Linked DNA regions of Homo sapiens: region 1 is linked to region 2. The links are contacts of gene promoters, found by promoter capture Hi-C in human tissues and cell types (Jung and others, 2019). All regions are on one chromosome and are shown on one strand. The core of a region is centred on a gene start or on the middle of the fragment in contact, and the rest is flanking DNA. Distances in the headings are between cores, read along the strand shown. Region 1 has its middle 4.4 kb from the start of TRC-GCA9-3. Region 2 holds the start of ASIC3 (acid sensing ion channel subunit 3).

Region 1 (4,887 bases), core at 97-2,596, 1.4 Mb after region 2:
AAAACCAGAGGTAGTAAGAGACCTAAGAGCCCAAGGAAGTAAAAGTATAGATGAAAAGAAGTCAGTTGGGCAAATTTTCCTCTCAAATTTCCCTGCCCCACCTTCCGGAAACTATGCAATATTGCCCTCAGCAAGGAAGAAGAGAGCAGATGGGCAAGCCTCTTTTGTGATGGCAAATTCCATCTTCATAAAAGAGAACTTGTCTCCTCTGGTGGGCATGATGTGGTGAAGACTGGCTCCAGGTGTCCCAATGTGGACTCTCAGGGGGTCCTAAAAGGGGCTGGGAGAGTGAAACACACACAAGGCACAGACAGAGGCAGCCCAAGGAGACCACAGGGATCAGTGAGAGTTTCCTGGGGCGGGAGTCACTACCTGCCTCATCTCACTGTGCAGAAGCCTTAGCTGGGCAAAGGAGGTGAACTCCAGCACCAGCTTCTATGGCTAAAATGGACAGTAGGTGCCCTGGAAAAAGCCAGCAGGATGGCCACACTACCCAAGAGAGAGAATTTTTCACATCAGCCCCAATGGTATACACACTACTTATGCATAATAACTACCACAAATATTTCACCTTACCAGTACGCCATGAATGAAACATCACTTCCTCAAGGAAAGTGTCCTTACCTCCTGCAATCGCTTTGATATCCCAGTAATAGTCTTATAATATCCCTGCATCTTACCATCTAGTATTTCTCATATTTTCCATTTTTAACTTCTGTGAACATTTGTACATCTTGATCTATTCCTCTAGTTTCAAGAGCCCATGTCTGTTTCAGTCACCATTGGGATAGGTTGTGTACGGACATGGGCTTCCACTCTGGATTAGATGGGAGTGATTGGAGGATTTCTTGCAGAGGAATAACATAAGCTGATTTCGTCCTCTGGCTGGCCTGAGGGCACTAGAGGACATGTATGGAAGCCGGGACACAAGTTCAGGAAGTTGTCACCATAACCTGGATGAGAGATGATTTCAGCTTTGTCTGATGGTGGAGGCAATGAGAAGTGGTCAGATTTTGGATATATTTTGAAGCAGTGTGAACAGGATTTGCTGATGATTTGAGAGCAGGGTGTGAGAGAAAGGGAAAAGTCAAGGATAATGCCAAGGTTTTCTGTCCTGAGCACCCGGCGGGATGGGGGGGCCATTCTCTGAGATGGCCATTTTCATTGCAGCAGAAATGAAATTTGAGGGGGTGGTGGAAGTCAGGAGTTCAATCTGTGATGTATTAAATTGAATCCATCTGTTAAATGGTCTAATGGAGATGTCAAAAATGAAGCTGGAGTTCGAAGGGGAGGTGTTGGCTAAAGATATAAATTTGAGGGTCATCATCCCATTAAAGCCGCAGGATGGAATGAGAGCACTGAGGAAGTGGGAGTGAAAAGAAAAGTGGTCTAGGAACTAAGACCTGGGCCCTCGAATGTTTAAAAATGGGGATGTTAAGGAGAAACCAGCAAAAGAGATTGAGGAAAAGTGGCAGAGAAGTACAAAGAAAACAACAGAAAAAGAGTGACAGCCCCAATGTCGATTGAAAAAAAAATGCTACTGAGGGCTTGAATTAAAGATGAGAATCACCCATGACACATGGTCACCAAGGACTGTGACAAGCACAGTCTCAGTGAAGTGGAGCACTTGGGTGGGTGTTCTCCTGGGAAGCCCTCCTGACCCTCCTGATGGGTGGGACCCCTGCCACATGCTCCATGGCTCCTGTATGTCTATCAAAGCACACACAGTTCACCATAATTGCTGCAAAGATGTGCCTGTAGGGTTCCCTGTATATCATGAATGGCCAGTACATATATGAATATGCTCAAATGTGTCAATAAAAAAGAGAGGATATATTAATGGAAGGAGATCCCAGGGAAAGCCAAAGGGTGGATAAAGAACACAGGATGTGCTCTAGAGAGGAGCAGGCAGGCTTTTCCTCTTAGCCTGGAGGGGATGAGGAGAAGGTGAAGATGCAGAGCAGAGGATGCTGGGGGGCCTCCATGGCCTTGGTCTTCTCAGTCAGATAGAAAACAAAGTCTTCCAAAGAGAATAAAGGAGGTAGGGTGGGAATCATTACTTGGGAAGAAGGGCAAAGTGTGAATCAGGCACTGTGGGAAATGGAGAAGAAGTGAATTAGAAAGGAATAGAATCATTGCTCATTAGAGAGAGGCACTGGTTGAGGTCAAACTGGTGTAGATTTGCAGTGGGACCATTTGCCTGGCTCTACAATTTACTCCATCAAAGACTGGCTTCCCCAGAGCAAAGGTGGGAAAGGCCAAAGGCGTGTGTATCCGCGGAAGCAGAAGGGCTCATGAGAGAGGTAGATAGACCACAGACCAAGCTCTCAAAGGAGCTGGAATCATGACTGAGAGGCCAAACATGGGATCAATAATGGGCAGGCAGATAGCTGAGCCCCAAGGTGGCCCTGCGGTCATGGGAACAGAGAGAGGTAGACAAGATTAAGGTCAAAATGAGGATAATGAAACATTTTTGGTAACAGTAAGAACATGTAAACATCAGAAAACGTGTCATAAAAGGACTTTTCTGATTCTAAGATCTTGAAAGGGAATAGTTTAAGTGATGATCAGGTTTGGCTATGAATGCTGAACACCCAAAATAACAAAGGATGGAAGCAAAACAAAAACAAGCAAACAAACCAGAAGCTTCCTTTTCTCCCACATAAAAGTCCACAGCTAGGTGGTCCAGGCATGGCTTTCCATAGGGTCAAGAACCCGATTTCTTCTTTGTGGCTGTCTGGCTGGCTTGGCTTTCATTCCAGCATGCCATCACCCACATTAGCATCTCATCGACCTCCCAGCCAGTAGGAAGGAGGAAAGACAAGCCTCTCCATATAAGAACACCCATCACTTTCACCTGCATCTCATTGACCAGCCTTATGCCTATGGCCTCACAGCTCCAAGGGGGTCTGGGAAATGCAGTTTTTCTTCTGGGAAGCCATGTGCTCAGCTGATAACCAAAAGGCAGGGTAGAAGACACTGGTGGAAAACTCTGAATCTCTGCCTCACCACACACCTTGAAGGCCGCAGTGAACGGAGTTTGTGAACATTCCTAGAGCCAGGAAGATGGAAATCTTGGGAGGCCTTAGCATTGGAAGCACATTACCTTGGAGTTTGACATTCCCGAGAATGAAAGCAGGAGGAGGTGAGGAAAATACGATTGTTAGCCTAGTTCTAAAAATTTCCACTAGGTTTGTGGAGAAGACATGAATGTGGAGAGGAGAGCGTGGTGAAAGGAGATGGCTTTGAGAGAGAAGCAGGGAGGGATGGTGGAGGAGCTGGGGTTTGGGGGCAACATGGAGAATGAGGCTGAGAAGGTGACCCCACCCTCTCAGTTCTGGAGGTTGAAGGGGAGGGATGGCTTCACGGGAAAGCTGGCCTTCAGATGTACAAGGAGGGATAAAAAGGCAGACTCCCAGGGCAAGGTTAAGGAGGAAGGAGACTGTTTATAGAGTAGCTGGAGGGCTGGCGGGCTTGGGTGGAGGAGCTAAAACAGTAATGGGGATACAGGAAGGAGGCTGCCCCAAGAGACCATTTTCACTATCAGAAGGCATTGGAGGGCAGGGACGGGAAAGGGGCAAGTACCCAAGTTCTAGGCCAAAGCTCTAAGTGTGAAACTGGAACAGCAAAAGCCACTTCTTAAAAAATGTAAGCTTTTGTGAGTACAAAGTGGTATATATATTTACGGGGCACATGAGCTGTTTTGGAAGAGGCATGCGATGCGAAATAAGCTCATCATGGGGATTGGGGTGTCCATCCCCTCTAGCATTTCTTGTTTGAGTTACCAATGCCACTTTTTGGAGGAAAAAAAAAGTACTAAATAAAAAATTCGAATATTTTGTTAACAAAAGGAATCTGCTTTAAGGAAAAGAAAATTATAAAGCACGTCACCAAAGATAAAAGAAGTTCTGTTATTCAGGCTCCTACATCTTATACTAAAAAGAAAGGTCACAGGATACAGAATATTTTCAACTCAGGGGAGTAGAGCAAAGCACCATTTGCTAAATGGTCAAATTAGGCAGAGCCTCAAGTGACACTACACTTGACCAGGCTCTGTCTTCAATGCCTGCTTCTCTGTTGTGTTTTCCTGCCATTCAGTGTAAAGATAGTAAGACTTTCTTGCTGTCACATAGTTTTATTACAAGAACCTCTTTTTAACCTATCTAAAGTAGAAACTTCTGTTGTTCATATAAATCAGAAGAATTAATAAACATATTTTAGGTAGTTCTGAAAAAGATTCATAAAAGGTGATTAGTGTAAGGGATACTAAAAATCATGAATTGTGCTTCTGAATTCTATGCTGTATAGCTGAACCTCCATGAATTTTGACATTTTGTACCAAAAAAGCTGTTTGTTCTCCAAAGCATAGAATGCCATCACATCCTTTAGCTTTTGAGATGGTTGATATAATTCAATAATCCCTTCTGCAGAAGTTTGCTTTTAAAGCTTAAATATGACATAAAATTGCTTTTGATAGTTACAAAACTTAAACACAACATGGAACTTTACTTATATTTTAACCTGTTGACATTTCATCCTCTGCAGACTCTCTTGGCCTTATATGGGCTCACTCACTGAGCTATAAATCCTCGTGGTTTGTTTGGAATTAGAAGACCAATACCACCCCATCCCAGGGGGAATGCCTGGATGAAAAAGGGGACAAATTAAGACAACTAGGAAATGCTGAAACAGCCTTTGTTCCTGGAAGATGCTGTTCTGGTCCAGTTTTTGTTTGTTTGTTTTTTTTCTCTCCAAGACGGAGTCACGCTCTGTTGCCCAGGCTGGAGTGCAATGGCGCAATCTTGGTTCACTGCAACCTCCACCTCACTGCAACCTCTGCCTCCCAGATTCAAGAGATGCTCCTGCTCAGCCTCCACGGTACCTGGC
Region 2 (4,714 bases), core at 169-2,668:
GACGCTCTTGGGAGCCCATCAACTCAGCTCCTCCACCCCGCCAATCCCCACCAAAGCCCAGGGCACAGCCTACAGGTTTTTCTGTGTTTCTCTGGGAACTGCAGGAAAAGGAAATGGGCCCCTGTGGCTGTCCTCCGGGGCTGGCAGTATGTTGAAAAGGCAGAGGGAAAGCAAGCCCCCCCCACCTCCTGGCAGAGATAGGGGTCTTCTGCCCCAGAATGGTCCCACCATGGAGGACCCCCAGCCCCAGGAGCAGGGCCTCCCTGGGCCAGACCTCAGGCCTAGGGCCAGCCGGGGTCAGTGTGGCCTCACATGCTCCCCTCGGGCTGGGAGACAGAGAAAGCCCCAAGGAGGACAGCTTCCTGGGCTGCACGGAGTGGCACTGGGGGGTGGGGAGTCCATGGCTGGTAGGAAGGAAGAGGTCCCCTGGCTTTGGGGGAGCCTGTGCTGGCTAGGGAATTGTGGGTGCTGGGCAGGGACTGGTCGGCTCTCTGGGTCCCTGGCAGGATAGGTAGGGAGGTCAGCTCACCGTGGTGAAGTTCTCAGGCCCACAAGGTTGGCCACGGAAGCGACAGTCCAGCAGCATGTCATCCAGGGAGTGCCCAGCACGGGCATAGAGTTGCGCCATGTCAAAGGTGGGACTGGGCATGAAGCCGGGCGGTGCAGGGGGCCGGCCCAGGGCGCGCAGGAAGGCGGCGTGCTCTGCGGGATCCAGGCCCAGCAGCGCAGACCCAGCCCAGTGCAGGTCGTTGGGCGTTAGGCGCGAGCGGCGCAGTGGGTTGATGTTGCACAGGGTGACAGCCGGGAAGATGAGCCGGTGGCTTTCTCGCTCATCCAGGGCAGTCTGGTGGTGGAACTCCCTGTAGTAGCGCACCCTCTCAGCCACCTGGTAGAGGAAGGTGGCCACTGACAGGACCACGGCCGCTGCCCACATCCCCCGGCGCAGGCTCAGGCTGCCTGGCCCGAAGACGTGGCCCAGCCCGTGCATCGAGCAGTTGCTGGCGAACACGCGGATGTCCGAGGCTGGCCGCCGGGCCTCCTCTGGGCCTGAGGTGGGCTTCATGGCCAGAACCCAGGAGCGGAACCAGCTACAGAGGCTTGGAAGAAGCGAGAGAGAGTCAGTCAGGGGGCTAAGGAGGCTAAGATAGGATTCAGGAGGCCAGGCAAGGAGAGGAGAAGAGAGGGTGGGAGACAGCCAAGGTTGGAAGGCAGGGAGGCACTAGCCTGGCAGGATTGGAGGAGGTGATCTGGCCGGTCAGGTCCCACTGTTCCTTCCCGAGGAACAGGCGGTGGCTCCACTGGGCTAGGCACTGGGCTGGGGACTCCGCAGCAGACCAGGTGGGACGTAGCTGACCGTGGCAGGCAGGGGCTGCGGAGCGGTGCTGAGCCGGCGGTGCTGAGCCGGCGCTGCTGCAGAGGATTGGGTTTCAGCAGTAGGGGGGAAAGGGGGCCGACAGAGCAGTCTGGGGGGTAGGAGAGGTCCCTAGGGCCCCAGGCTGAGCCATTAGTGCAGCATGGAGGGGGGCATGGCTGTCCAAGACGAGAGGCGCCAGGAGGAAACCGCAGTAATCCTAGGGAGAGCTTGAGAAAAGCCCAGAGGTAGATTGGGCCTGGAGATGCCTTGGGGCCCCCTAGGCTCCCAGTTGCAACCCCTGTACACTGGCCGCGAGGGTCAGTCGCTGACCCCTGGCCTAGCTCCTCTCTCCTTTTGCCTCTGCGGCCTTCCCTCTAGCTTCACCCAGGATCTGTTCCTTCACGAATACCAGAGCTGGCTCTTGGCCAAGCTGGGAAATGGTTGGAAGGCTGGCATCAGCAGATCTCTTCTTTCTGTGCCCCTAGCATCTCAGCCTACACTGGATGGCCAGGGCACTCTTCATGTCCCACTTCCAGGGCCCGTCTGTTTCCTAAGTGTCCCTCTCTCCCTAGGGAGTCAAAGCCTACCTCCCCACACTCAGGCCTCTGAGGATGTTGGCCTCTACAATGGTTATGGGCTCACCTGCCACCCCAGGTAGAACATGGGTGCCCCACCTGCCACCCTCCCGGGTACCACGGGTACCCCACCTGCCATCTCAGGCACAACATGGGTATTCTGTGATTTCCCATCTTACGCTGCTATATCCAGGACCTGGAAAACCTACATTTTTCCAAAGGGCTGCATACCACCCATTATGTGCACATACCATAGTTTATTTAATGACTCCCCCACTGATGGGCACTGGGGGTGTCCAGTCTTTCCATTACAAACAATGTTGCCGTATCATCACACAGATGTGAACTCCCAGGACTTTGGTGGGCTTTTTTTGACCATGAGTGGTAGAAACATGGTTCCACCAGCCAAACGTGTGCACACACCATGCTGCAACTGCTGGGCCACCTGTCTGTCCTCCCAACAGGACACAAGCTTCATGGGGGCAGGGACTGTCCTCATTCCCCATCGTGGGCTCAATGGCACATGACAGGTGCTTGATTAATAAACACTTTGGAAGGACTGAGTACCATGGTTACAGCACAGGCGTACCAGCTCCCCAGAGCCACAGTGCCATGCTTTGCAAGTATTTACTGTAGATGATCCCACTCACACTCTCAAAACAGGCATTCAGCATCAAGCACAGCTAGGCTCCCACTCTCCACTGTGGAGCGAAGGCCGAGGCGAGGTTAGGAAGACGGCGCGGCTCCTGCGGTCTAGCTCTTCCAGCTGGACTAGCCAAGGGGTTTCACTGCTTCTCTAGGGGGCGGGTGAAGGGCTGGATTTAAAGAAGCCGCCCAGAAGATATAAATCTGGTGTCAGAGGCATTTTGGGCAGCCTGAGGCTGATGACTGAGTGGGTGAAGCAGGAACCACCTTGGCTGGCTGCCTGGTGAGGGAGGGGTCAGGCCAACAAGCAGGGCCCCAGCAGGGCTTGTGGACTTGCCAGCTGAGGCCCTACTCTGGGCTGCCCTAAGGAGGGGTTTAGCTGTGAACCAGCCCCAGGCTCTGCTCCTGGACCTCCACTGCTTAAAGACACAGCCTCTGATCTGTCAGGAAGTGGGATATCAAATCAGGGTGGATGTGGGCCTGGGGTTTTTGGATGGCTTGTCCCCAAAGCACCATCTAGTTCTAAACCACACCCACAAGAGCCCGTGGGTCCCACTCTGGCTCCTGCACGCAAACTTGAGCCACTGCTGCCTCTTCCAGGCTGGCCTCCCAGCAGCACCAGCTGCTCCATCAATGCACTGTATCACACCCCTGAAAGAGGGTACCACCCTTCTTTACACAGGGTAAATCCAGAATGCTTGCCTGGCTGTGAAGGTGCATTGCAGGTACCACCTCTTCTCCTGCCCAGGGGAACAGGGCACCGTGTAGTCCCACAGCCTGGATGTGGCTGGATAGGGGAAGGATCCCAGTAGGAAGTGACAGCGGCACCAACATGGGGAGGGCTGATGCATCTGCAGCAGTGCAGGGACACGAGGTCCTGCTGGGGCACCAGTTCAGCCAAGGACCTACTTGTGTGCCTTTCCAGGCCCCTCAGAAGCCAGCTGGAGCCTAGCCCCCTCATCCACAGTCTCAGGGCCACAGGCGCCCATCACTCAGGATGTCTGCCTTCCCCTTTCAAGGTGCGCCTCCCAGAACCTGCTGGGGATGCTGGCCTGTCCACAGCCGCACCCTCCTGGACCGATTCTGTACTGGATTCTGCAGTAGCTGCTCCATTTAGCTCTGTACTCGTCAGCACTGTGGGCAGGAAGCAGAGAGCTCCAGGTGGGCATCAGCCCCTCCCATCTCCTTCAGTGCTGGGTGTTCTTGGTGTAGATGGAGGCTGGTTCACAATCTCAGTGGGTGAAAGACGCCAGGCACACAGGGCAGGGCCGGTGGAAGACAGCCAGGCAGGCTGGCGCTTCTCGTGGGAACTGGCCATTGTGGCCCCGTCCCTCCTACCCTGACCCAAGTGTTGGGCCCTGTTAGGCCTGTGTCCCTTGTGGGTGGGGAGGGGAGGTGAAATCTAGAAATCAGGACTGTGTTCACTGTGCAGGGAGAAAGGAGGGAGGTTGTTTGGAAGATGGGGACTGTGGGTCCCGGGGTGAGCCAGGGGATAGGCTCCTTCTCCCATGGAGGGAGTGGGGACACAGGAGAGGGAGTCAGTCGCCAGTCTAGGGAAGTGAGGTCCTAGCAAGGGTGTGGGAAGAGCCTAGGTTTGAATTCCCAGGCCCACTTCCAGACCCTGATTTTTAAAAATTCCCTGGAGCTACTGTAGGCCTGGCCAATTTGAAGCTGCTGGGTGGGGCAGGGAGACTGGCCAGAACGTCTCTTGAGAGGTCTGGAGGGGTCTGGGCAAAGGGAGAATAGAGTGGAGGTGTCTCGTGGAACTCTGTCTCTGCCCATTGCAGCCCAATGACTCTGGCAGACTCTGGTGGGAGGGAGGCAGCCGGCAGGACTGGGGAGGGGAGGGAGGGATTGGCCTCCCCTGCCAGCTGCTCGGCCCCGGCTTTATTGTGAGCAGGAGCAGCCGCAGCGACTCTCCACATGCTGGCCCTCCTGGGGGCTCAGTCCCCAGTAGGCTCCCCCAGGCTGAGCCCCAGCCCTAACACTGATGCTTGGCAGCGACCACACCTCAGGGGGCCCTTCTCAGGACTTGTGCTGGTGGCTCCTGGGGCCTTCTGGCTTTTTGGGCGGTGGGGCCGCTGTCCTCGGGGCATCCAGGGCCTGCCTCCGGATGAGCTCGGCGTATAGCCCGCCTTTC

Evidence for each region. Contacts are between HindIII fragments. The study calls those that stand out against the background at their distance.
Region 1: a fragment that was not itself captured here is called in contact with the fragment with the promoter of ASIC3 in region 2 in 1 of the 25 tissues and cell types used here (thymus).

Annotation. Positions count from the first base shown.
Region 1 is chr7:149,628,874-149,633,760 of GRCh38, reverse strand. No RefSeq gene overlaps it. Among named protein-coding and RNA genes, the nearest start is that of TRC-GCA9-3, 4.4 kb to the left of the region's middle. The HindIII fragment of the contact is 5,408 bases long and covers 1-4,050 here.
Region 2 is chr7:151,045,235-151,049,948 of GRCh38, reverse strand. ASIC3 (acid sensing ion channel subunit 3) reads right to left here and starts at 1,418. Exons shown (of 11, transcript NM_004769.4): 1 at 530-1,418. The coding sequence starts at 1,063. It overlaps ABCB8 (ATP binding cassette subfamily B member 8), which reads right to left. Exons shown (of 16, transcript NM_007188.5): 16 at 2,167-4,714. The coding sequence ends at 4,600. The HindIII fragment of the contact is 19,092 bases long and covers 1-4,714 here.